4 separate regions of the Homo sapiens genome follow, and all the other regions are linked to region 1. The links are contacts of gene promoters, found by promoter capture Hi-C in blood cells and fetal thymus (Javierre and others, 2016). All regions are on one chromosome and are shown on one strand. The core of a region is centred on a gene start or on the middle of the fragment in contact, and the rest is flanking DNA. Distances in the headings are between cores, read along the strand shown. Region 1 holds the start of SGO1 (shugoshin 1). Region 2 overlaps TRANK1 (tetratricopeptide repeat and ankyrin repeat containing 1). Region 3 overlaps CRBN (cereblon). Region 4 has its middle 1.7 kb from the start of EDEM1.

What was found. The method cuts DNA at HindIII sites, captures the fragments that hold promoters and counts their contacts. A CHiCAGO score of 5 or more calls a contact.
Region 2: a fragment that was not itself captured here is called in contact with the fragment with the promoter of SGO1 in region 1 in 1 of 17 cell types (total CD4 T cells); the score reaches 6.3 in total CD4 T cells.
Region 3: a contact is called between a fragment that was not itself captured here and the fragment with the promoter of SGO1 in region 1, in 1 of 17 cell types (activated CD4 T cells). The highest score is 5.8, in activated CD4 T cells.
Region 4: a contact is called between a fragment that was not itself captured here and the fragment with the promoter of SGO1 in region 1, in 2 of 17 cell types (non-activated CD4 T cells and naive CD8 T cells). The highest score is 7.6, in non-activated CD4 T cells.

The regions. Positions count from the first base shown.
Region 1 is chr3:20,184,605-20,187,567 of GRCh38, reverse strand. SGO1 (shugoshin 1) reads left to right here and starts at 1,362. Exons shown (of 8, transcript NM_001199251.3): 1 at 1,362-1,620. It overlaps SGO1-AS1 (SGO1 antisense RNA 1), which reads right to left. Exons shown (of 4, transcript NR_132785.1): 4 at 1,453-1,593. RefSeq lists enhancers at 885-944, 965-1,644. The HindIII fragment of the contact is 754 bases long and covers 1,085-1,838 here.
Region 2 is chr3:36,903,047-36,906,106 of GRCh38, reverse strand. It overlaps TRANK1 (tetratricopeptide repeat and ankyrin repeat containing 1), which reads left to right. Exons shown (of 24, transcript NM_001329998.2): 3 at 2,832-2,958. Among named protein-coding and RNA genes, the nearest start is that of TRANK1, 40 kb to the left of the region's middle. The HindIII fragment of the contact is 3,946 bases long and covers 1-3,060 here.
Region 3 is chr3:3,173,769-3,176,756 of GRCh38, reverse strand. It overlaps CRBN (cereblon), which reads left to right. Exons shown (of 11, transcript NM_016302.4): 2 at 1,488-1,594; 3 at 2,496-2,698. Among named protein-coding and RNA genes, the nearest start is that of CRBN, 4.4 kb to the left of the region's middle. The HindIII fragment of the contact is 626 bases long and covers 1,137-1,762 here.
Region 4 is chr3:5,184,472-5,187,469 of GRCh38, reverse strand. No RefSeq gene overlaps it. Among named protein-coding and RNA genes, the nearest start is that of EDEM1, 1.7 kb to the left of the region's middle. RefSeq lists a silencer at 1-134 and an enhancer at 1,246-1,305. The HindIII fragment of the contact is 678 bases long and covers 974-1,651 here.

The DNA.
Region 1 (2,963 bases), core at 113-2,612:
ACTAGAGCAAGCATGTGTTAGCTACCTTTAAAAAACAACAACACACCTTCATAAAGAATGCCTAGATTCAAAACATTTGTTTCGTTTTCATTTATTTGTTCCTTTATTGTCCCAGTGAATATTTACTACTTACTTCAAATTGCAACGAGATGCTGACAATTTAGCTATGAACAAAGCAGATGTAGTTCCTGCCCTTATTCAACTTCAAGAAACAGGCAATGAACGACAAGTCAGTGTCACAAGGAATACCAAGGGGAAAATGCAGGGCACTAAGAAAGTGTAAAGCAGACACTCAGGGGCTTTAGGGGTAGATAAGTCTTTCTGGAAGAATTCATCTGTACAGTGAAACTTCAGTATACATAGGAGTAAGTTCGGCCAAGGGAAAGAGTGTTCTTGACAGAACAGCATTGGCAAAAGTGGCAAGAATTTTAAGAAAATTAAAGAAAATGTACAAGTGATGGAACCAGGAATCATGGGGCTCTTTAAGGACAAAATATCTTAAAGGAGTTTGAAATTCACCTTAAATGCAATAGGGAGCCATTGTAAAGTTTCCTATTTGATACTTGTTTTGTAAAAATATTAATCTATGAAGAATATAGGGAGTGGAGTCTGCGGTCAGAGTGGGTACTAGTGCAATTTAGGGAATGAGATTAGGCTGGAAGCTGGATTGGGGGGAAAAAGATGGGCATGAGAGAAACTTGGAAAGCAGAGTTGAGAAGATCGTGTGACCGACTGGACGGGCAAAGGTTAAGAGAGGATAAATAATCATTAAGGACGATTTCTCAGGCTTCTAGTCGGTAACTGGATGGATGTTGGTGCCATTTCTCGAGAAGAGTTAAAGAGCCAGAGATAGCCGGCAAAGAGAAACATGGAGCTAGAATTTTCAGGTATCTGCAGTTTCCCTAATACCTTTTTAATCCAGAATTTGCTCCTTGTTTTGGTTTTAATTCCTCTAAAAGCTGCTTCCGTGTTGCAAGCTGGCTGACCGCTTTAACAGGCAACCAAAGAGATTCTTCTCACAAGAGGGAGGCTTTGAGCACAACCCGGGACATTTGAAGCTGTCAGACTGAAGAAACAGGAAGCTTTGAACTACCTATCACACTCGGCCTTAAAGGTTTCGGAGTAACTCCACCCGTAAAATCCCCACGACTCTGATTAGAAAGTCCCGGCGGGTCGCCGAGACCCGACCGCAGGCTCCGCCCCAGGGCCAGGTGGATGCCCGGATGTGGACTTGAGCGAATGTGCGTCACGTGACGTCGCCTGGCGGGGCGGGACTCTGCCTGCGACGGTGGTGTTGGGTGCATCCTGCGCCACGTGACCGCCTCCCAGCCAACCAATGGAGGAGCGAGGCGGAAAATTTCGAATGTGGCGGCGGTAGTTCCAGGCGACGGCGGACGGTGGTACGGTCCTGGAGGGCCCAGTGCGCGGGGCTAGCCGTGGCTGGAGAGCTTCGAAGAGCCTTGAAATGTGAGGAGGAGGAAGATAGCTGTTGCAGAAGTAGTGGCCAAGGTATCGTTCTGGACGCGCCTGCGGCAGGAGGGTCGCCGCGTCCACTTCCGCCAGCCCCACCTCCCCCCGGCCTTCCTGGAGTCCCTGAAAGAGGAAGAAGTAGGTTTTAAGGTGCGAAACAAGGGCGTAGTGATCCCTGTTTGACTTCCCTTCGGTTTTCAGTATCATTCTAAATTCGGTGGCCGAAAGCTCGGGCCGTGGAGTCCCACTCGCCGCGCTTTTCGCCGTTCAGCCACTCGATCTGCGCTTTCAGATGTTCCGGCTTCCATGGAGACCCTAATTTCCTACTTTGCAAAATTGTGTAGATTAAGTGATGTGCAAATAAAGCTTTTACAATAGCTAAAAGCCTGGCTCAACGTAAGGACACAAGAAAATTGACAGCAGTTCTTTGTGCAGCGTGATACCGTTGACGTCCTCCTTGTCCAGGCCATTCTCTTCCTCACTTACCCTGGAGAGGCCGGCACTGACTAGTATCCTACCTGGCTGTCTTCGCAGCAGGACTAATTGGAGAATTATGGACGGAGATCAAATATGCTAGGTTCTTTAAATCCAGAGCGCTTACACGAGTACTGTACAGATTGAGACCGTCATCTCGCGCTGTGGTCTGTCTTTGCTTTCATCCCTTCTGTCTACCACACCCCCTGCTAATAACCATCGCCTTATTTAGACAGGATATAAAACTTTTGATATGGCAAGTTTCTTTTGTGATTTTTAACTTGATTAAAAGTAATAACGAAAGCTTTTTAGGTAAGGCTTTGCCTTTAAAATACCTTAACTAAACTAGATCCGTTACTTAATCTGTATGACTCTCAAACATCTCCAATTCTAACTTAATTGTGTAAAACAACCCCTTTACCGTTCGTGCTTTTAAAAATAGCTACCCTATCTCTGCTAGGAACCTCCCAGTACATATTGTATATACCTTGGTAGAAAGAAAGTTCTTAAGTGGTATCTACAATACCTATATTTAAGATTCCAGACACTGCATAGAGGAAAATAAGGCCTGGAGGAAATACTCAAGATTAAGTGTAAGGTTTAGGAAAATATTTGACTATCGTAGAGGAGATGAAGATATCCTTTGTAGTGAAAATTCTGTGCATAGATTGTTATTGGAAACAAGTCTTTTTTTTTTGCAATTTTAAGATCTGCAAAGTGCAATCTAGCGTAAAAGATGTTTGTGAAAAGTGGTTTGACATGTTTAGTAGCATGCTAAAGCCTACCTGATTTGCAACGTTGAAAGATTAAGTATAGTTATGTATTTAATACTCAACGTTTAACTGTATGTACAACAATATTTAATGTCTGATTTGTTATGTTCATAATTTACTGGGAGTTAACAGCCCTAACTTTTAGCCACAGTTTGAGAATACTAGAGTGTTCCTCTGCCCAAGTTCCTGCTCTAGCTCTGTACTTGTTACAATAGCCTATTAAAATTGTATGTAGTGCTACATAGT
Region 2 (3,060 bases), core at 159-2,658, about 17 Mb before region 1:
CAAACATTCAGCTTTCTTAGAAAGAGGTAGTATTGTGTAGTGTTTATGGTTGTAGACTGACCCCACACTATGTGTGTTCAAAGCTCAGCTCCACCACTTACTGTGTGACCCCTACTGGGACTTCTGCCTGGACCCTCATGTTGCCTTTTGTGGGACCTTCCTGACACTGTTCCCCTTGCCCATCACCTGCTGCTGGCCTTCCTGCCACAGCTAGCTAACACTGAGACTCAGGTGCATGTGATTTACAGCGTACTTGCAGGAGAAAGGGGACTGAGGGAGGCAGGATGGCACAAGGAAGGCTCTAAGCAGGGATGGTGTCTAAACCAAGCAAGATTTGCCTGATCCCATAGGCAGCTCTGGAGCATGAATCATACTGCAGAGCTGGTTCCATCTTGAGGCAAGGAGGTTAACCTTTTGATTCTCATATCAGTCAGTCACTGGTTTTAGGCTGTCTGGCTCCCGGCAGTCATCCTAGGGAGTGGGCTATATTAGTCTGCTTGCGCTACCATAACAAAATAGCACAGACTGGGTGGCTTAAACAACAGAAATTTATTTTTCAAAGTTCTACAGGCTGGGAAGTCCAAGATCAAGCTGCCCCCTGTGAGGGCTGTCTTCCTGGCTTGTAGATGGTTGCCTTCTCACTGTGTTACGTGCAAAGAGGAGAGAGCAAGCTCTCCAGCGTCTCTTCTTATTCCATTGTGAGGACTCCACCCTCATGACCTCAGCTAAACATAATTACCTCCCAATGGTTCCATGTTCAAATATTGTCACATTGAGGGGTAGGGCTTCAACCCAGGGATTTTTTTTTTTTTTTTTGAGACAGAGTCTTGCTCTGTCTCCCAGGCTAGAGTGCAACGGCACGATCTCGGCTCACTGCAAGCTCCGCCGCCTCCCGGGTTCACGCCATTCTCCTGCCTCAGCCTCCCGAGTAGCTGGGACTACAGGCACCTGCCACCACGCCCGGCTAATTTTTTGTATTTTTAGTAGAGATGGGGTTTCACCGTGTTAGCCGGGATGGTCTCGATCTCCTGACCTCGTGATCCGCCCGCTCGGCCTCCTAAAGTGCTGGGATTACAGGCATGAGCCACTGTGCCCGGCCTACCCAGGGATTTTTTTTTTTTTGGCAGTTGGGGATGGGGGAAGTTCAGTCCCTAGTATGGGTGTAACTTCCTGGGGAGAGGGTAGCTCTCATTAGGCTGAGGATAAATCTCTGGAGAACAGGGTGCTGAGAACCTCTAGCTGCAGCCAACAGACATTGCAGCTGGGAATGGCTGCACTGGCCAGAGTGTCTGGGATGGACACCATGGCATCTCTTACACTTGCGGTCACTGCTCCCTTGCTGATCCCTCACTGCCTGACCCCACTGCCTCCTGTGTGCTTCTGGGGCCTCATCCCTTCACCTAGAGGGAATGTTGGGCCATGAAAGAAGCCAGACACAAAACATCGAGGGTGGGGACAGTAATGGAGGTGATTTTTCCTTTGTTTATTAATATTTTTGTGCTTGTCTGCATTATCTACAGTGATTTTTGTATTATTCTACAGTGATTTGTATTATTTTTACGATTAAGATTTTTTTTTTTCTTTTTTTGAGACGGAGTCTTGCTGTGTTGCCAGGCTGGAGTGCAGTGGTGCGATCTTGGCTCACTGAAATCTCCTCCTCCTGGGTTCAAACGATTCTCCTGCCTCAGCCTGCCATGTAGCTGGGACTACAGGTGCACCCCACCACACCCAGATAATTTTTTTGTATTTTAGTAGAGATGGGGTTTCACCATGTTGGCCAGGATGGTCTCGAACTCCTCGCCTCGGCCTCGGCCTCCCGAAGTGCTGCGATTACAGGCATGAGCCACTGCGCCTGGCCTATTTAATATCTTAATTATGTAATCCCAGCACTTTGGGAAGCTGAGGCAGGCGGATCACGAGGTCAGGAATTCGAGACCATCCTGGCCAACATGGTGAAACCCCATCTCTACTAGAAATACAAAAATTAGCCGGGTGTGGTGGTGTGCACCTGTAATCCCAGCTACTCGGGAGGCTGAGGCAGAAGTGCTTGAACCCAGGAGGTGGAGGTTGCAGTGAGCTGAGATTGCACCACTGCATTCCAGCTTGGGCGACAGAGTGAGACTCTGTCTCAAAGATATTAAATAAAAAAGAAGTCATAAGGCTTGCTTTTTTTATTTGTGTGTCTTATATTCCATTGGTAGCTGGGCTTCTCTTGACATATTGTGGTTTGCTTTGAATTTTCCTTTTTCTTCTGGCCTGGTTTCAGCATTAACTTGCAGCTATATTACCTCTAGACCAAGGCCAGAGCCATCCCTGCCCTGCTGCGCTTTAAAGGGCCCTCCTTTGGCCATCTTCCAGCTGTGCCCCTCCTCACAGGCAGGAGTCTGTGGGGCCAGGGCCGTACTCACCCAGAGTTCTTGCATCCCCTTTGGTCTACACTGTGGGTACCAAGACTATGGAATTCCCTGCCTTATAGGCCCTGCTCCCAGGGCCTGCACAGGCCTCTTACCTGAAGCCGATTCTTCTGAGGGCTGGCAATGGAGATGAAATGATTATGCGTGGAGATCAGTGAGAGATGGAACCAACCTGTTGAGAACAATTGTCATTAAAAGACGGGAGCAGAGTATTTGGGAGTGAGGAAGGACAGATTTATATATTGTAAATGTTCCAGGCTCGTTTGGGGTCTGGGAGACTGATCTGATAAGCATGAATGAGTCATTTCCTACTGAAACCCCCTTCCTGATGGCAGCAGCCAGCACCGAATGGGGGGACTTCACAGACTGTTTTCTGTATTTGCAGAACCATGACAGACCACCGGTTTGTTCTTACAGGGTTCCCCCGAGGGACTTGGCTGTGCTGCTGTGCAACAAATCAAATGCATTTTTCAGCCTTGGGAAGTGGAATGAGGCATTTGTTGCTGCCAAGGAATGTCTCCAATGGGATCCAACCTACGTGAAGGTATGGGGTGGGAGGGTGAAGGTGTGGGGAGATGACTTGAGAGTATTGGGGTGGTGGATGAAGGTATGAAAGGATGAGAGAAAGTGTGGGGCAGTGGCACCT
Region 3 (2,988 bases), core at 200-2,699, about 17 Mb after region 1:
TTTTCTTTGTTTCTTTCTTTTGAGATGGAGTCTTGCTCTGTCGCCCAGGCTGGAGTGCAATAGCACAATCTCAGCTCACTGCAACCTCCACCTCCTGGGTTCAAGCGATTCTCCTGCCTCAGCCTCCCCAGTAGCTGGGATTACAGGCACCTACAACCACACCCGGCTAACTTTTGTGTTTTTAGTAGAGATGGGGTTGCAACATGTTGGCCAGGCTGGTCTTGAACTCCTGACCTCAAGTGATCTGCCTGCCTCGTCCTCCCAAAGTGCTGGGATTACAGGTGTGAGCCACCACACCTGGCCTTCATTTTAAGATAATGTAGCGACTGCCAGGGAAATGTTGTCACTAGAAAAATGCTGTGAAATTCTTCCTGCTAGGTTATCTTTCTCTCAGTTTTAATTAACAGATCTTGCCTGCTTTGTTTCTTTTCTTACTTATGTAGGAACTGATTGAAGTTGAGAGTTTGAGAGAACGTTAGAGGTTGACTTGTTGAAGCCTATCATTTTGCAGATGAGGAAACTAAAATTTAATTGGGCAGAATGAGTTGTCTAAGGTGTTAAAATTAGTTACTGGTGAGGGAGAAGAGAAAAATCTCCCATATAGAAGAATTTTAAATAACTTACATTTCCTCTTCAAGGGAGTGGAGCATAACTCATCACCCCTGAAGTGGAGGCTACACCTAGTGATTTGCTTCCGAAGGGTACAATGTGAAAAGGAGGGGGGAAAGGAACTTTACAGCGGAAAAACCTGACACACACTGCTGTAGCCAGGTGATCAAGGTTAACAGCAGGAATAGTTCATAATATATAGGCTGGATATGTAATAAAAACAGCACATTGGCAACAGACCCCATTTCTAAAAAGGAAAAGAATAACAACACTTCACTTCTGTGGTCTTCCTCCCTAAAACACGTATCCTCAGTCTAATCATGGGAATTACATCAAACAAAACCCAGTTGAGGGATACTCTACAAAAGGCCTGACCAGTACTCCTCAAAACTCAGAAACAAGCAAAGTCTGAAAACCCCCCTAGCCCAGAGGAGGGTAGGGGGACCTGATAACTAAATGTAAAGTGGGATCCTGGAACGCAAAAAGACTAGATAAAAACTAAGGGAATCCATTTAAAATATGAAGCTTAGTTAGAGTAATGTACCAAGACTGATTCCTTCGTTGTGGCAAATGTACCATACTAATATAAATTAACTATAGGGGAAAAGGATGTGTGACACACGGGAGCATTCTGTACTATCTTTACACTTCTCTGTAAATGTTAAACTATTCTAAAATTCACAGTTGACTTAAAAAAAAAAAATAGCTACTGACAGAGCCCAGCACGGACCCCAGTCCTCTGGCTCCCTCTTCACGGTGCTGTAGAGTTTACCAAATGCATGTGGTTTTAGAAGTACCCCTCTTTTGAAGAAGGAATTACATGTTTGAAAGGTTTTCATTCATCTTTTTTTTTTTCTTACAATATTCTACTTTTATAGCAGAGAGTGAGGAAGAAGATGAAATGGAAGTTGAAGACCAGGATAGTAAAGAAGCCAAAAAACCAAACATCATAAATTTTGACACCAGTCTGCCGACATCACATACAGTATGTAATTTAGTGACAGATCTAATATAATAGATATACATTTAAATGTAGATAAAAGTTCATAAAAACAAGTGACTGATATTTGTATTACTAGATATCAGAAATTGTGGATGAGGACATGGGCTATTTGCCAGTAGATAAACATTTAACTGTAATTTTTAAGAAGCTTAATACTATGTTGTGGTAGAATTGTTTGAGGAATTGTTGCTCTTTATACTCTTTCTGGTAATTGAGCTATTAAATACTTCTCTGTACTTCTAGGTACTAGAGTGTTATTGAACATACTAACATTTTATACTTACTGTTTGTGATATGTGGGCATAGAGATATTTCTTGGTAAAAATAATACTTTGTACTAAAAAAATTCTTGAATTTCTGTGTTTGTGATATATTCATAAAAGATTAGAAATTCTTCTAAGAGTTAAAGTTAGATTAAAAATTATATTTTAACATGGGATGCTTATATACCACGTTTATTAAGTGTTTGTAACCCCATTTGTATTTTTTTCTTTTTTTTTGAGACAGAGTGTTGCTCTGTCGCCCAAGCTCGAGTGAGTGCAGTGGCACAATCTCAGCTCACTGCAGCCTCCACCTTCCAGGTTCAAGTGATTCCCCTGCCTCAGCCTCCCGATTAGCTGGGATTACAGGTGTCCACCACCACACCTGGCTAATTTTTGTATTTTTAGTAGCAACAGGGTTCCACCATGTTGGCCAGGTTGGTCTTGAACTCCTGACCTCAGGTGATCCGCCTACCTCGGCCTCCCAAAGTGCTGGAATTACAGGTGTGAGCCACTGTGCCCGGCCTGTATTTCTTTTAATGTGATTTGCTCTTTAGTCTGTTGAGCTTACATTTTTATTACATATCGATCATGACACTATACCTATATATGTTTTTATATAGTACCTAGGTGCTGATATGGAAGAATTTCATGGCAGGACTTTGCACGATGACGACAGCTGTCAGGTGATTCCAGTTCTTCCACAAGTGATGATGATCCTGATTCCCGGACAGACATTACCTCTTCAGCTTTTTCACCCTCAAGAAGTCAGTATGGTGCGGAATTTAATTCAGAAAGATAGAACCTTTGCTGTTCTTGCATACAGGTAAAATATTAGAGTCCATTTGCTTAATACATTCCCTCTCATGGGTAATTGCAGTGGTCAGTGTTGAAGCCAAAGCAGGCTGTTATTTCGCATGTACAGGAGAGGTTGGGTAAGAATGTGAGGTTAGGAATTTGGTTAAGTAGAAGTTTGATAGTGCAAGTTGGAGTATTTTTGTTCATTTCATTACCATCTAACTCAGCTCTTCACCTTCATACACAATTTAACTTTCTGGTATTTGAAAAATTTTTAATCATTTATATTTGATGAAAAACATTTCTGGAATCTTAGTT
Region 4 (2,998 bases), core at 63-2,562, about 15 Mb after region 1:
CCCCCTGGGCGGTCCGTAGCCCGATGGGCTGGCGTGGCGAGCAGGAGCCGCGCCGGCCCGCGAGGGAACTTCCAGCCAATGGGAGAGCGGCACGGCAGCGCCCGCCGGACGCTGGACACAGACGTGACCCCAGACCGCCTGGCCTTGGGTGGATCGGGTCTCTGGGCAGAGCGTGTGTCCGGCAGAGCTAGGACCGGAAAAAGCCACTCTAGGTCTAGGTTAGGAGTGATGACAGTTAAAAGATATATAAGGAAAAGAAGGAAAGGATCGTTTCTGTATAAAACGAGCTATTTTTGCATATCGAGCGCATAAGTTTTATAACTTAGGTGTCTGTTTATGGAGAGGGTGGGATACTACCTTTTAGCTCAAGGAGTGCACAAAACGGTATCATGAATTCTGCTCTTTTGATTCAAACACCCAACTTTGAAGAATCGCTCATGGTGCTTGTAAAACACGTATCCCCAGATCCCTCCCTAGACCTATCGAACAACTCCAACGGTCTCGGGAATGTGCGTGTAAGTACTCTTGGACAGTTCTTAGAAACTGGAAGTTTCAGGAAATACAAAGTTATGTTATATTGCTTTTGTCTCGGAAATAGGATTTTTTTAAAAGGGGGGGGCGGGTTGGGGGTGGGAATGAAGGCTCCCACCACCACCAAATTATTTACCAGATATATCTAAACATGTCTTCTCCTGTCCCTCCCATCCTACCATCTCTCCTGTGCACCCGCAATTAGTGACCTAACCTTTGAGGTGTGGGGTAGATTCCCAGTTAAATAACTTTACCCCTCTGTATCTACTTCCTATAATTAAGAAGATTGCAAATGTTAGCTCTAAAGGGCTATGGCTTTCACATAAAGATTCAATGGTTTAGGCGCTTATTTATTTTGCTTGCTGCATTTGGAGTTGGCTGTAAGTTTTGCCCTCCCTAAGTTTAGACCCTATGCCTGTTTCATCAGGGTTTCTGAAAAGCTTGGGAAGCAAGACCTGACTAGACCCCCAAATCTGATATTGGCTGAATGGCCGACCAATGGAGTGCATAAGAAGGTAAGTTGTCATGTGGCACTCTCATCACATTTTCAGGGTAGAGGACTTTCTGAAATACAGAGGAGGTGTAAGGGGAACTAAGAAAACACTTGATTACAGCACATGGTAGCTGGCACATAGGAAGGTCCTTACTGTTGGCTGAGCCTTGTTCTTTCCCAACATTGAGACATCGAGAGCAGCCCAAGCAGCAAAAAGATTACGAAGACAGCTTGAGCCAGGGTCTTTAGACTACACAGCTTCTGCTTTTTCCCCTCTGTGAAGGATGCCTAGGGACTGTGCTGGCAGCCCAGCTCCAGCCCTTGATCCTGAACTTCTGCCTTCCTGGAACTTGCAAACTGAATGTGAATATTCAGTTGCATGTTGCATGTTTCCTTCCGGGGCTACTTTATTGCAAATTTTAACTTAAATTTGACCTGGTTAACTGCAGGCCACATTGAGGACAGCTTCTGTCTTGATGTTAGAGAAAAACTCTTATAAAAATAAATCTTTTAATAACCAGAGAAAACCATCCAACTCCTGAAAGATGCTTTTCATAGTAAAACTGATGGTTTTCAAAACACTTTGACATGTGTGCTTATTTAATCTTCATAGAAAACTGTAAAGCTTATTCCACAAGCCATAATGGAAGAAATCAGGTTGGGGGCTCAATTCTCAGAGCCTGTTGGCTCTAGGCAGAAAGGGAGTTACTACACTTTAGGGCAATTTGCACTTCAAATAGCTGGCCCTTGAGCAGACAGGTCCCTCTGCTCTTTCCAAGCCACCCAAAAGCAATAGTTTTGACATTAGTGCCCTGCAAGGCATAGCCTAGGCATTAGGGTCTAGGTTCAGAAAGTGTTTCCTTCTGGAATGAAACTGAAATGAAAGAAATGGGTTATTTTGTGCTAGTCCTTTCGATTAGGACTCTCCTTAAGCTAAATGTACTGATAAGATTGGGACAACACCCATACCCAATCAGAAAACTCCAGTCTTGAAAATCAACTCTTTAAGATAAACAGTTTGATTTGTGACAGGTTTTCCGGTAATCTCACAAGCGCATCAGGGACTGATAAAAAAGGAAAGGAGGCACTTTTTCAGTGTAAAAATGGCTTTACTCTGGGGAATGCAAAGAGATGACAACTAAGAACTCACATTCAGAAGTCAGGTGTTCAAATCGTAGCTCTGCCCTAAGAGTGACCTTGGGAAGTTACTTTTCTAGGACTTGTTTCCTCATCCATAAAATGGGTGAGTGATGAGGACAATGTTTATCACAGTTGTGATTACATCATATATATATATAAAGTACTTACAACCGTGCTACATAGTGAGACCTATTAATACTTTTCAACTCTGAAACTTTTAAAACTAGCACCCGGCTGGGCGTGGTGGCTCACACCTGTAATCCCAGAACTTTGGGAGGCCAAGGCAGGCAGATCACTTAAGGTCCGGAGTTCAAGACCAACCTGGCCAAAATGATGAAACCCCATCTCTACTAAAAATACAACTACCCGGGCGTGGTGGTGGGCGTCTGTAATCCCAGATACTCAGGAGGCTGAGGCACGAGAATCACTTGAATCCAGGAGGCAGAGGTTGCAGTGAGCTGAGATAGCGCCACCACACTCCATTCTGGGCAAGAGAGTGAGACTGCGTCTCAAAAAAAAAAAAGTATTTCAAAAGCAGAGGTTTTGCAAAGCTGAAGGCCTAAAAAAAAGTATATAATTACAGTTCAAACTTATTTGATGGGCACAAATCCAAGTTTGTCAACATGCTCTGTTAGCAAGATACAGGATACTCGAGAGGCTGAGGCAGGAAGATCCCCTGAGCCAGTAGTTTGAAGCTGCGTTTCCTATGATCGTGGCTGTAAATAGCCAATGCAATTACCTGGGTAACAGTGAGACTTCATCTCTTTTTTAAAAAGGCATAGGGGACTGGGACTGGTAAAAACAAAAACTAGTACTTCCCGTGTGAAGGGTCAT